3 separate regions of the Homo sapiens genome follow, and all the other regions are linked to region 1. Evidence: promoter capture Hi-C in human tissues and cell types (Jung and others, 2019). All regions are on one chromosome and are shown on one strand. The core of a region is centred on a gene start or on the middle of the fragment in contact, and the rest is flanking DNA. Distances in the headings are between cores, read along the strand shown. Region 1 holds the start of CALU (calumenin). Region 2 has its middle 34 kb from the start of TNPO3. Region 3 holds the start of METTL2B (methyltransferase 2B, tRNA N3-cytidine).

What was found. Contacts are between HindIII fragments. The study calls those that stand out against the background at their distance.
Region 2: a fragment that was not itself captured here is called in contact with the fragment with the promoter of CALU in region 1 in 1 of the 25 tissues and cell types used here (IMR-90 fibroblasts).
Region 3: a contact is called between the fragment with the promoter of METTL2B here and the fragment with the promoter of CALU in region 1, in 1 of the 25 tissues and cell types used here (aorta).

Annotation. Positions count from the first base shown.
Region 1 is chr7:128,737,586-128,741,708 of GRCh38, forward strand. It overlaps CALU (calumenin), which reads left to right and starts at 1,774. Exons shown (of 7, transcript NM_001219.5): 1 at 1,774-1,847. RefSeq lists silencers at 1,381-1,520, 1,591-1,730 and an enhancer at 2,011-2,110. The HindIII fragment of the contact is 3,801 bases long and covers 1-3,414 here.
Region 2 is chr7:129,087,318-129,091,440 of GRCh38, forward strand. No RefSeq gene overlaps it. Among named protein-coding and RNA genes, the nearest start is that of TNPO3, 34 kb to the left of the region's middle. RefSeq lists an enhancer at 2,541-2,690. The HindIII fragment of the contact is 6,650 bases long and covers 1-4,123 here.
Region 3 is chr7:128,474,285-128,478,407 of GRCh38, forward strand. It overlaps METTL2B (methyltransferase 2B, tRNA N3-cytidine), which reads left to right and starts at 2,464. Exons shown (of 9, transcript NM_018396.3): 1 at 2,464-2,591; 2 at 2,798-2,889. The coding sequence starts at 2,482. RefSeq lists enhancers at 2,301-2,350, 2,571-2,740. The HindIII fragment of the contact is 14,580 bases long and covers 1-4,123 here.

The DNA of each region.
Region 1 (4,123 bases), core at 524-3,023:
TTGCTCTGTTGCCCAGGCTGGAGTGAAGTGGTACAGTCATAGTTCATTGCAGCCTCAACCTCCTGGGCTCAAGCAACTAGCTTGAACTACATGTGTGTGCCACCACACCCAGCTAATTTTTAGTTTTTGTTTTTTTGTAGAGATAGGGGGAGGAAGGGTCTCGTTATTTTGCCCAGGCTGGTCTCAAACTCCTGGCCTCAAGTGATCCTTAAGGAGGTATTTTAAAAACTGTTTTCGAAATAATGCCTCCTGAGGTAGCCTGTTTTATTGTTAATACCCATTAGATGGCTTCCCTGTAGGCACAAGCTTAGAAACTTTCCCAGGAAGACCCACAGTTCCCACTGTCTTCAGTTCAGGTTCCTCAAATTGACAAGATCTTCCATTACCTCTCCAAACTTACTATCCATGCTTTTCTTTCATTGTTTCCCCCCACCCCTTTTTTTAACCTTCCTCATTTGCTACCTGGCCTGAGAATTTACCTCCCACTCTGCCCTCCACTTGTCCTTATTCCTATTACTCTTCTTGCTGAATAGTCCATTTGGGACTTCCTTAGTCCAGCCTTAGTCATATCTTCCTCTGAAGCCTTCCCTGACTACCACCAAGGGTCACTGACACTCCTTTGAATGCCAGAAGGATTAGTTGTAAACCTTTCACGTTGACAGTAACTAGCTTGCTTTCATGAGCTTAACTGTTTCATGAGTTTACAACTTGTCTCAATTTGATTTTAAACTACAGAGGCTTTATGTGCTAAGAATGCCACAGGTTTACATTCCATTTGTGTTGAAGCTATAGTAGCCTTTATTTGATATTTGTTTTAATTTCATGACATGAAATTAAATTTTCAGGGACATGCAACGGGTTCGGCCCATTCCCTTCACTTAACATTACTGAGCTGGGCAGTAAGCTCAGAGTTGCAGATATAAAGATGAATAGACAGATACCTACCCAGGAGCTTACTCTAGAAGAGGACAGATGGATAAGCTACATTTTATAGCAGAATTTGGCAAAGTGTACTGAAGCTATAAACAGCTATGATGGTAAATAAGGTAAGAATTATGCTTAGTGAGGTCAGGGAAGGCTTCTAGAGCTAACATCTGAACTGGGACTTCTATTGGCAAGGCAGAAAATCAGGAAAACGCACTTATTCCTGGCAGAGGAAGCCTCTTGATCAAAAATCTTAAGAGATGAAAAAGGACCGGTTGTTAGGAAACAGATGATGGTGCCCAGAGCGCAAGATGAGGGGGAGTGTTGGGAGATGGAGCTAAAAGATACACTGGTGCCAAAGACTGAAGAGCCTCCTGTAGATAGCGCAGGGCGCAGCGCTGAAGGGAAAGAAAAAGTTGGGATTGTTCAATAAAGTTGGTGACTGATTCAGTCGGATTAATTCCGCCCTGGTGGTCTTGTGGGAATGAAGATAACTAGCAGGATAGTCTAAGAAGCCCTGTGGAAGCAGAGTCATGAGCTGTGAATGGGGACGTGGCGGCCACACGGCCGCGCCCACGCCACCCGCAGTACGGGGCTGGGGCTGGGGCTGGGGCTGGAGCCCGCCGTCCCAACAATCCCGGGGACGAGAGTTGGGCGGGAATCCGCTCCACGCAACTCGGCGCGGTCCCGGGGACGTGGCGCTTTCCAGCCAATCCCGGCTATGCGATTGTTAGACCAATGGCTACTCGGGGACGCTATGCGACAGCGGCGGGTTTGCTGATGATTGGTCGGGAGGCCGCCGGCGAGGCGGATGAGGGCGGGGTGCGGACCCGCTTCCGGTTGGGCGGTGCTTGCGCGCGTGAGCTGAGCCGGTGGGTGAGCGGCGGCCACGGCATCCTGTGCTGTGGGGGCTACGAGGAAAGGTAAGTACGGTGATGCCCAGCCCCTTCACCACTGCCTCATCTTTATTCGCTTTCTTTCTGTCCCCGGTCTTGTTCTTGGCGCGGCAGGGGACTGCCTCACTCGGTGCCGCTGTCTCTGCTGGCGCCCGGGTCCCAGGCCTGATGCTGCTGGAGATCCCGGGACCCTCTGTGTGCAGCCTGGGATGGAGGCCGCCGCCCGTCTTACCGCGCGCTCTGGGAAGGGGGCTGGTCCGGTGGAACTCTGTCCCGTTGGGTACTGTTCTGTGCCTGGTTTGCTGCGTCCTGGTCCTCCATCTCTAGGTCACGCCACTCACCGAGTCTCTGGCACCAGAGGGTCATTTTTTGCCTCCGGAAGGTCGGAGGGCATTTGGATAGTGTTATTGTAAGAGTTCCTTGCCGCCTCCACTCACCATCCTGCTTGTATCTGCCAGCTCCGCCCCAAGGCCACATCCCGACAGTAGGGTGCATCTGCCAAGGTCGTGTTCACTCACCTAAAGGGTGCAGAAACAAGGGGGGAGAGAACGAGTGACGACACTAGGTGATATCTATGATTTTAAAGAAAAGCTGAATGTTTAGAGCTTCCATATTTGGCTACGTACTTCAGTTAGCGACGGAAAATAGTTTTTAAAGCTTTATTGGGGAATTAATTTTTGTTACGTTTTTTGTTGCTTCTAGCCCCATATCCTACTGATTTTTAGCATGCTGCGGTCAGAAATAAACTTAATTCCCTATAGCTGCCGCGATTAAGCGTAGAGTGGCTTGCAGTTTCAAAAGCTGCTTTTGCATCAAGGCCCAAGCTCCGTGGGTCTCCTGCTAAAACTTTTGAGCCTGTGATCTGAATTCCTAAGTGTATAAAATTCTAGAATAGTGTCTTCGAGAATTGAGTTGCGTTCATTTTCTGGTGTGGACCATGAAGTCAACGTTAATGAATTGGGAATAAGGTGGCTTCTAGTTGTTTTTTGTTCTAGTAGCTTATTCAGCTTGGAGGCAGAGAACCTTGGAATCTCTGTTAAATTAGTCTGCCATAGAATGGAACTTGACACAAGACAAATGCAAGTTTGACCTCACTCAGTAGATTTAATTAACCAAATACCAAACGACAGTAATCACTGAAGAATTTATATAGTATAATCCAAATGAGGGACCAGATATAACCTCTAAGTTGTATTTGTCAAGAAAATGAGTTTGCCAAGACCTAATCTGAGGTTTTACTGTGATTGGGGGGTGGGGGGGTTCCAATAGGATTCTTTTGAGAATCACAAGTAGGAAAGCCATGAGCTCACAAAAATGTATTGAGTATGCCTGAGTGAATAGTACTCAATATAGCTTTGAAACCAACTCATTGTCACTCTCAATGTAATCATTGTTTGTTTTCATTCATCCAGTGATGTGTCAAGAAGTACTTATTGATAGCACTTAATATCCATTAGAGCAGTATTGGGATCTATATATTGGTGTTATTTTTTAAAATTTATTTATTTTAGAGTTGAGGGTCTCAGTATGTTGACCAGGTGGAGCCTTGAACTCCCATGCTCAAGCAGTCCTCCTGCCTCAGCCTCCCAAGTAGCTGAGACTAGAGGTATATAACACCACACCCTAGTACATTGGTGTTAACACAGATTTTCTGTAACGTAGGTATACCAGGGATATTGAAAGGACAGAGGTGTAGCCAAGGATAGCCACTGGAAATGCTAGCTAGGCCACAAGGCCCTAGATTCTCACTCTCTGAACTCTTAAGTATGGATGTTGCTGATGCAGTAATTTATGTATTAGAGTTAAGACAGCTGAAATAACACTTTTGCCTGTTCCTGGCTGATTGCCAGATCCAGTAAACGGAATTGGAAGTTGGAGAACACAGGCAGGCAGGAACCACATTGCTGCCAAGTACCGCCCAATTAATTCAGTAAGATGTATTAATCCAGTAAAATGTATTGGTATCAAAAAAGTGCAAGACAATGTATTAGGGACAATATAGGGGTAATAATTTGTATTAGAATGATATGTAGACATTCTTCCAGAAATGTCGATTCTAAAGGGGAGCTAAGGAGACAACTTAAGGTAACCTATGGTCATTGTTTTTGAGTGGTTCAGACGAGTTTTATAGAAGTTTAGATTGGATCATACCCTTTTTGTCCAAAAAGAGAAAAAGATAACAGATCACTTCCAGCTAGAGTGATCATAGTAGGTAGGTCTTCTAGGATCTTAAATTTATTTATAGACATCTGGCACTGAAGGAAGTTTGAGCTAAAATAACTACCAAATTCTCAACAGTGTCA
Region 2 (4,123 bases), core at 850-3,349, 350 kb after region 1:
CTACAAAAAATTTAAAAATTAGCCCAGCATGGTGGCTTGCACCTGTAATCCCAGCTACACAGGAGGCTGAGGTGGGAAGATCACTTAAGCCCAGGATTTTGAGGCTGCAGTGAGCTACGATCATGCCACTGTACTCCAACCTGAGCAACAGAGCGAGACACTATCTCTAAAAAAAATAAAATTCGGCCGGGCGCGGTGGCTCACGCCTGTAATCCCAGCACTTTGGGAGGCCGAGGCGGGCGGATCACAAGGTCAGGAGATCGAGACCATCCCGGCTAAAACGGTGAAACCCCGTCTCTACTAAAAATACAAAAAATTAGCCGGGCGTAGTGGCGGGCGCCTGTAGTCCCAGCTACTTGGGAGGCTGAGGCAGGAGAATGGCGTGAACCCGGGAGGCGGAGCTTGCAGTGAGCCGAGATCCCGCCACTGCACTCCAGCCTGGGCGACAGAGCGAGACTCCGTCTCAAAAAATAAAAATAAAAATAAAAAATAATAATAAAAATAAAAAATAAAATTCAGGCCAGGTGCGGTGGCTCACGCCTATAATCCCAGCACTTTGGGAGGCCGGGGCAGGCAGATCACAAGGTCAGGAGATCAAGACCATCCTGGCTAACACGGTGAAACCCCATCTCTACTAAAAAATACAAAAAATTAGCCGGGCATGGTGGCCGGCACCTGTAGTCCCAGCTACTTGGGAGGCTGAGGCAGGAGAATGGCGTGAACCCAGGAGGTGGAGCTTGCAGTGAGCCAAAATAATGCCACTGCACTCCAGCCTAGGCGACAGAGTGAGACTCCGTCTCAAAAAATTAAATTAAATTAAATTAAATTAAATTAAATTAAATTAAAAAATAAAGCTTCAAGCCAGGTGTGCTGGCACCTGCCTGTAATCCCAGTTACCTGAGAGGCTGAGACAGGAGGATCACTAGAGCCCTGGAGTTCGAGTCCAGCCTGGGCAACATAGCAAGACCCTATCTCTTAAAAAAAGAGCTGCTATGATTTTTATTTGTCAATTATGCCTCAATAAAGTTGAGGAAGAAAACAATAAAGCTACTATGAACATTTGTGTGCAAGTCTTTGTATGAATATGTGCTTTTTTTGGGTGAATACACAGAGGTGGAAAGGCTAGATCATATGGTAAGTATGTTTAACTTTTTAAGAAACTGATCAGCTGTTTTCCAAAGTGGTTTTATCATTTTACATTCCCACCAACAGTGTATGAGAGTTCTAGTTCCTCTGCACTCTTATTAACACATGGTTTTAATCAGACATCTAATAGGTATGCAGTAGTTTCTGATTGTGATTTTAATTTATATTTCCTTAATGTGAATAATGTTGAACATCTTTTCATGTGCTTATTTGCCATCCATTTTTTTGGTGAAATAACTGTTTAGATCTGTTGCCTACTTTTTGAAAAAAAGTTGAATTCTTTGCTCTTATTTGATTTCCAAAGTTCTTTATATATTCTGGATACACATCCTTTATCAGATATGGGCTTTGCAAATATTTTCTCCCAGTCAGTGGCTGGTCTTTTCATTCTTCTCATGGCATCTTTTCAGGAAAAGAAGTTTTTAATTTTGATGAAGTCCAATTTATCAAATTTATTTCCTATTGACTGTGCTTTTAGTGTAATATCTAAGACATATTATCTAATTAAAGGTCACAAAGATTTTACTTCTATGTTTTCTAGAAGTTTTATAGTTTTAGATTTTACACTTAGGTGCATAATCGATTTTGACTTAATTTTTATACGTGGTATAAGGTATGAATTGAAGTTCTTTTTTTCTTTTTTTGCATATAGCTATCCAACTGTTCTAGCCCAACTCACTGAAACTATTCATTAGAAATTATCCTTTCTCATTGCCTTTGGGTCTTTTTAAAAATCAATTGTATATGTGTGTGTATGTGTGTCTGAACTTTCTATTCTGTTCCATTTGATCTGTTCTATTTGAGCTGTCTATCATGATGTTAATAGCACCTCATCTTGATGACTATTATTTTTTATGAAGCCTTGAAATCAGGTGGTGTTAGCCCTCCAACTTTGTTATTCTCTTTCAAAGATGTTTTGGCTAATCTAGATCCTTTGCATTTTCATGGGAATTTTTAGACAGTTTGTCAGTTTCTATAATTTTTTTTTCCCTGTAAAGCTGAGACAGAAACCCAGGGCTCTGAGGTCAGTCTGCCTAGGTTCAAGTTTTATCTTTACCTCTTCATAACTGTCTGACTTTGGCCAAGTTACCTAACTTCTCTGCAATTCCATTTCTCATTCACAAAGCTGAAATAATAATATTATCAATCTCATGGGGTTGTGAAAGGGCTTAGATGAAGTAATGCAGATAAGGCTGAGAGAATGAAAATACAAACAGACAATGGCCAGATCATATATGACAATAGAACTCTGGGCCACAACCTCTGCAGCAACCCATCCAGGAAGCCAAACCACAGCCTCTGCAGCAATCATCCCAGAACAGTCAGAACTTGACCAAGTCAGTAAGTGCAGCTGCCCTAACTTCTGCCCCCACTTCCAACTCAGGACCAAGCACAGAAAGCCAAATATGGTCCCCAATCCAATCACACTGGATGCTCAATTTCTAGTCAGCCTACCTCTAGCTTTCCCATGCCAACAAGCTCCAATCAAGGCATAGCTGAAGACTTCCCTTTTTTTCACTATAAAGCTTTGCACAGCCCTGCCTGCCTGAGTCTCTGACAAATGCGAGTGATGGTGGCTGAGACCCTGGCTAAAGCAAGCGCTGAATAAACAGCTTCTGTTTCTTCTCACTTGGGTGGTTTTTGTTTATTTCCACAGTGCTTAACACTGTGCTCGCAGAGTTAGTGATTGCCCAATACATTTTATATAGAGCAGTAGAATTGCTTTGTCGTATGAAACTTTAAAAAGAATTCCAATAGATAAATAAAAGTGGCATTTCAACCGTTTATTTTATCTAAGTCAGCCAGTAATAAAGGTAGGACTTTTGCAGTGATCTCAATAACATTAAATGAACATGATGGCTGATCCTTGCAACCACAAGGTTTTTTAAAATCCTGATTCACATAATAAGAAGTTGCAAATGCCAAATTTCTGTTTTCTTTTAAACAGGTCACTTTGCAATTAAATATTTGCAGAACCTCTGAAGCACCTCTTCAAAACTCTAGGGCTCTCAGAAACGTGGAGTAAAAACTTACCCTGATGTGAGGTCAGGGTACAGGGTCTTGATTTCAGTCCTAGTGATGCTGCCACTCTGCCGGATAACCTTGGGCATGACACTTGACCTCTGAGATTTGTTCCTCCCTTGTAAATGGAAAGAGCTGAACTAAAGAACTTCTCAAAATTTAGTGCGCATGGATAACCACATGTATATACTGGAGGAGGGTGCGTGCCCATTTAAAATGTAGGTTTCTGACCCACCCAGTGGCGTCTGAGTCAGGGTCCTGGAATCTGCATTTTAACAAGCACAGCTGATTCTGGTGCTAGTGACAATTGGGCACAATTTGAGCAGCACAGGAGCAAATGGTCTTTTAGGTCCCTTCTGGCTCTGATGTGTGTGATTCAGGTGAGGTTGTTGAAGAGAAGTGGGCTGCAGCATTGGGAAAGGAAAAGTGAAGGAGAAAACCATTCAACAGTGGGGAAAATTTTGTTTTTTTAAAAAGCCTATTGTGTCAATATTCTACTTTATTTCTTTTTTCTTTTCTTTTCTTTTCTTTTCTTTTTTTTGAGAAGGAGTCTCGCTCTGTCGCCCAGGCTGGAGTGCAGTGGTGGGATCTTTGCTCACTGCAACCTCCACCTCCCAGGTTCAAGCGATTCTCCTGCCTCAGCCTCCCGAGTAACTGGGATTACGGGCACCCACCACCACGCCTGGCCAATTTTTGTATTTTTAGTAGAGACAGGGTTTCCCCATGTTGGCCAGGCTGGTCTTGAACTCCTGACCTCAAGTAATCGGCCTGCCTCGACCTCCCAAAGTGCTGAGATTACGGATGTGAGCCACCGTGCCCGGCCAGCATTCCACTTTTGAAAGCCCCCGTGACCCTGGTCCAGAAGGACTTTGATTCCTGGCCCTGGTCTTCAAGCTCTTTGCAGAGGCAATGCACATTTTATTCTCCATGAGACCACAGGAAGAAAAAAAAACAC
Region 3 (4,123 bases), core at 1,214-3,713, 260 kb before region 1:
CCAAAAAACAAAAAAAAAACAAAAAAAACAATTAACTACCCTTGTCCTTGGCTAACAACCTAAGGCAATAATCCAGAATGAGAGTTTTTAACCTTTACAAGCATTAAACCCATGCCACCCACTGAGCTATAAGAGTTCTCCTTACTTACCACCAGAGGGACCCTTAGTTCCTCTGAAACGTGGCGTTTCTGAAGCTACAATCCAGTATAAAGTCTGACACCAGAGAACTCACAGCCATGTCAAACTTATGCAAAATTATTTTAGGTGCTTCGAAAAATAGGTTTTACAGGCCAATCAAATATAATTGTATAAAATTAAGTTTAGGCCGGGCGCGGTGGCTCACTCCTGTAATCCCAGCACTTTGGGAGGCCAAGGTGGGCGGATCATGAGGTCAGGAGATTGAGACCATCCTGGCCAACATGGTGAAAACCCATCTCTACTAAAAATACAAAAAATTAGCCGGGCATGGTGGCGGGTGCCTGTAGTCCCAGCTACTCGGGAGGCTGAGGCAGGAGAATGGCGTGAACCCGGGAAGTAGGGAGCTTGCAGTGAGCCGAGATCACGCCACTACACTCCAGCCTGGGAGACAGTGCGAGACTCCGTCTCAAAAATAAATAAATAAATAAATAAATAAAAATAAAAAATAAAATTAAGTTTAGGATACTTTAGCACATTTCATAGAAAAAAGGCCAAAGCTGTTTGACATTTAAAATGTCTCCATTGGAACTAATATAGTAAATTCAAGTGAAGACAATGAGCTGTCTGCAAGAAAATATCCAGTGGGACTGTTGATTGGGAACACTAACAGCTTTTAGTGAGGGGAGAATAAAAGCCCACAGATGAGAAAACAAGATGCCAGAAATAAATGTAAATCAACCACCATATCTGCAAACAGCTGGCCTTGAGAAAAGATAAAAATTCCTTGTACTTGTTTCTGGGTATGGAGCTTGTGTTCAAAATGTTTCCAAAGACCACAAGAATGGCAAAAGCATATTGTCTTCAAATGAAGTACAACTTCTTTACTATCTTTTTGATTAACTTGTGTATTTTTCTTCCTGATTAGAGAGGCTTAGAGCTTGTTCCCATTTCTTTGGAGGAAAAGTATAGAATCATTCATTGCTCCCTGTAGTTTTACCTACAGAAAGAATTTACAATGGAATAAACAATTACTGGCTGGGCACGGTGGCTCACACCTGTAATCCCAACACTTTGGGAGACCGAGGTGGGCAGATCATTTGAGGTCAGGAGTTCAGGACCAGCCCAGGCAACATGGTGAAACCCCATCTCTACTAAAAATACAAAAATTAGCCGAGTGTGGTAGCGCGCACCTGTAATCCCGGCTACTCAGGAGGCTGAGGCAGGAGAATCACCTGAGCCCAGGACATGGAGGTTATAACGAGCTGAGATCCAGCTACTGCACTCCAGCCTGGGAAACAGAGCAAGACTCCGTCTCAAAAAAAAAAAAAAAAAAGTACTAATTACCAATGTGCTATGTCTAGCACTGCACTAACCCTTTCCTTTTTTAAAAAAATTCATCTTTCCCTTTATTCTGACATTATGACATTAAATAAAGTCCAAGAGATATTGGGCTGGTCCTTGTTTGGTCTCTGCCCTTTCCTTCTTTTCCAAGTGGTATTCATCATGCTTCTCTTGGAAGTCTTCTCAAATAACCTTATGTCTATAACATACTTTCTTCTAGATTCTTTTGAGAGTCTATTTGTATTAGATCTAGAAATAGAAATGTAAGGCTGAAATGTATTACTATGACAAACTGTATGTGTGTATTACAATCTTAATTGTGCTAATAAGGATAATTATAATAAATATAATATGGATGATTCAAAAAGGTTAGATGGTTATAATTAAAAAAAAATTGTCCTTGGATATTCCATTTGATTTGCTAAGCCTCGTGTTCTCTAATTTCATATATCCATCTCCCCCACCCCAACCAAAATATATATACACACTGTGTATACATATACACCCACACTATGAAGAGCTGACTATAGAAGCTGGAAATTGCCCTGTTTCTTTCCGCTGCTTGCTACCTTCTTCAGTTCTGGACATCGGCTCCGCAGTGGAACTAGGTAGCCTCAACTCTTATAATGATTCAAGATTATTCCTGTTTTACAACTTGAGGGAAGCTGGGGAACCTGTTAAGAGGATCCCAGCAATGAACTGGGCCTCAAGTGGAATGTCTCCCACTTTCTGCCTAACCTGCACGTCCATCAGCACCTCATCAATGAGATACGACTCCTCCGGGGAGAATTTCCCCCTGCCTGGTCCCCTTCCCTAGAGAGCCCTTCGCCAACCCTGGGAAAGCCCCAAACGACAGCTCCCGAGCGCCACCCGGACCAGACTCCAGGACCGCCCTGTCCCGCCACCCTTTTTCCCGCCCAGACTCCACGTCTTCTGAAAGAGGGCGTGGCCCGCAGGAAGTTCTCGCGTTACGGAAAGTGAAGTGTTTCCGGCTCCGGTGTCATGGCCGGCTCCTACCCTGAAGGTGCACCTGCAATCCTCGCCGATAAGAGGCAGCAGTTCGGAAGCCGGTTCCTGAGCGATCCGGCGCGCGTCTTCCACCACAATGCCTGGTAATCACCCTGCCCCCTCGCCCGGCCTGTCGCTGGCCGTCTGTCCCGCCGCCTCGGAGCATTCCGAAAAGCCCCTGACCGCCGGCCACGAGTCAAGCTGCCCTACCCGAGGCACTCTCCAAGGGGAGAGAAACTCCTAGGCCAGCGACTCACCCTGCTCGCAGCCAGGACGTGAAGCCCCTAAGCTGCCCGTTTGATTTTCTCAGGGACAATGTGGAGTGGTCGGAAGAGCAAGCCGCGGCGGCGGAGAGAAAAGTCCAGGAGAACAGTATCCAGCGGGTGTGCCAGGAGAAACAAGGTGCGCTTAAATGGGCTCTCGTTGGTATCAACAGCCAGCGTACTGCCGAACGCGCCCTCCCGGAGAGGCCAGGGAACCGCGGCCGCCCACATCCTTTATTCCTGGCCTGATGCGGATCTCAGGAGTAGAGCAGGACAGGGAGGGGATGAGCAAGGAGGGAAAAGGGCTGCATTGTAACAAAATCTTAAGTCGTAGAGGGTTTTTTTAATATATAGTTTTACTTTGGAGGAGGGTAATTTTGTCTTTAATTATGTTGAGTAGATCCACGTTGATATGGCTAGCCAATGACAACTGTGTGGTCACGCGATCATCTTAGAACCTGTACTTTTTACATGATTTGCATTTTCCATGAGGAGATGTTTCCATTGAAGCTTCATTTAAGTGATTAGATTCTAAATATTGTTGGGAGGGGGGCTAATGACTGGTGACTGTGTGTCTATTACTTGTGTGATGGTTATGAGAATTTAGGGCTTCAGTCAAGGAAAGGTGGATGCAGCAGAGTGGAGATAAGTCTGGCCAAAGAAAAGGAGGCCCCTGCTTGAGAGGTTGATGATTTCACTGCAAAATATCCCTAGATAGTAAAACTAGGACTGATTGTTCCAGACAATTGAAGATAGCACTACAAATTTAGTACCTGCTGAAAGAGTTCTGTACAACAAAAAGGTTCCAGTTACAAAACATTCACCCTGCATAGTCTGACAGCAACTAGATCAAAGCAAGTTAATAGTTAAAAGGGATTTTGAAAATCATGTGGTTCAATATTCTCTTTTTATAGTTAAAGACACTTGGACCACAGGACATTAAGTGCTTTTCCCAGAGGTAAGCAGTCAGTAGTAGCAGTAGTGGAACTAAAATCCTGTTTCTTAGGGAGTCTTGGTTGATTCAGCAGGTGAGTTGTGAGTTGTTAACACACTTCTTAGTGGATTCCAACTTCCATTGTCACCGTCCTGCTCAATTTGTTAGGTTTTTATTCTTTCTACTACACTAGTCAAGGCCCCCTGAACTGGCAAGAGCAGTAAACTGAAATCTGGGACTGTCATGATCACCTTAAAAACAGCCTTCATTTAAACTGTCCATACTTTTTTTTTTTTTTTTGGAGGCGGAGTCTCGCTCTGTCACCAGGCTGGAGTGCAGTGGCGCGATCTCAGCTCACTGCAATCTCCTCCTCCCTGGTTGAAGCGATTCCCCTGCCTCAGCCTCCCGAGTAGCTGGGACTACAGGTGTGCACCACCAT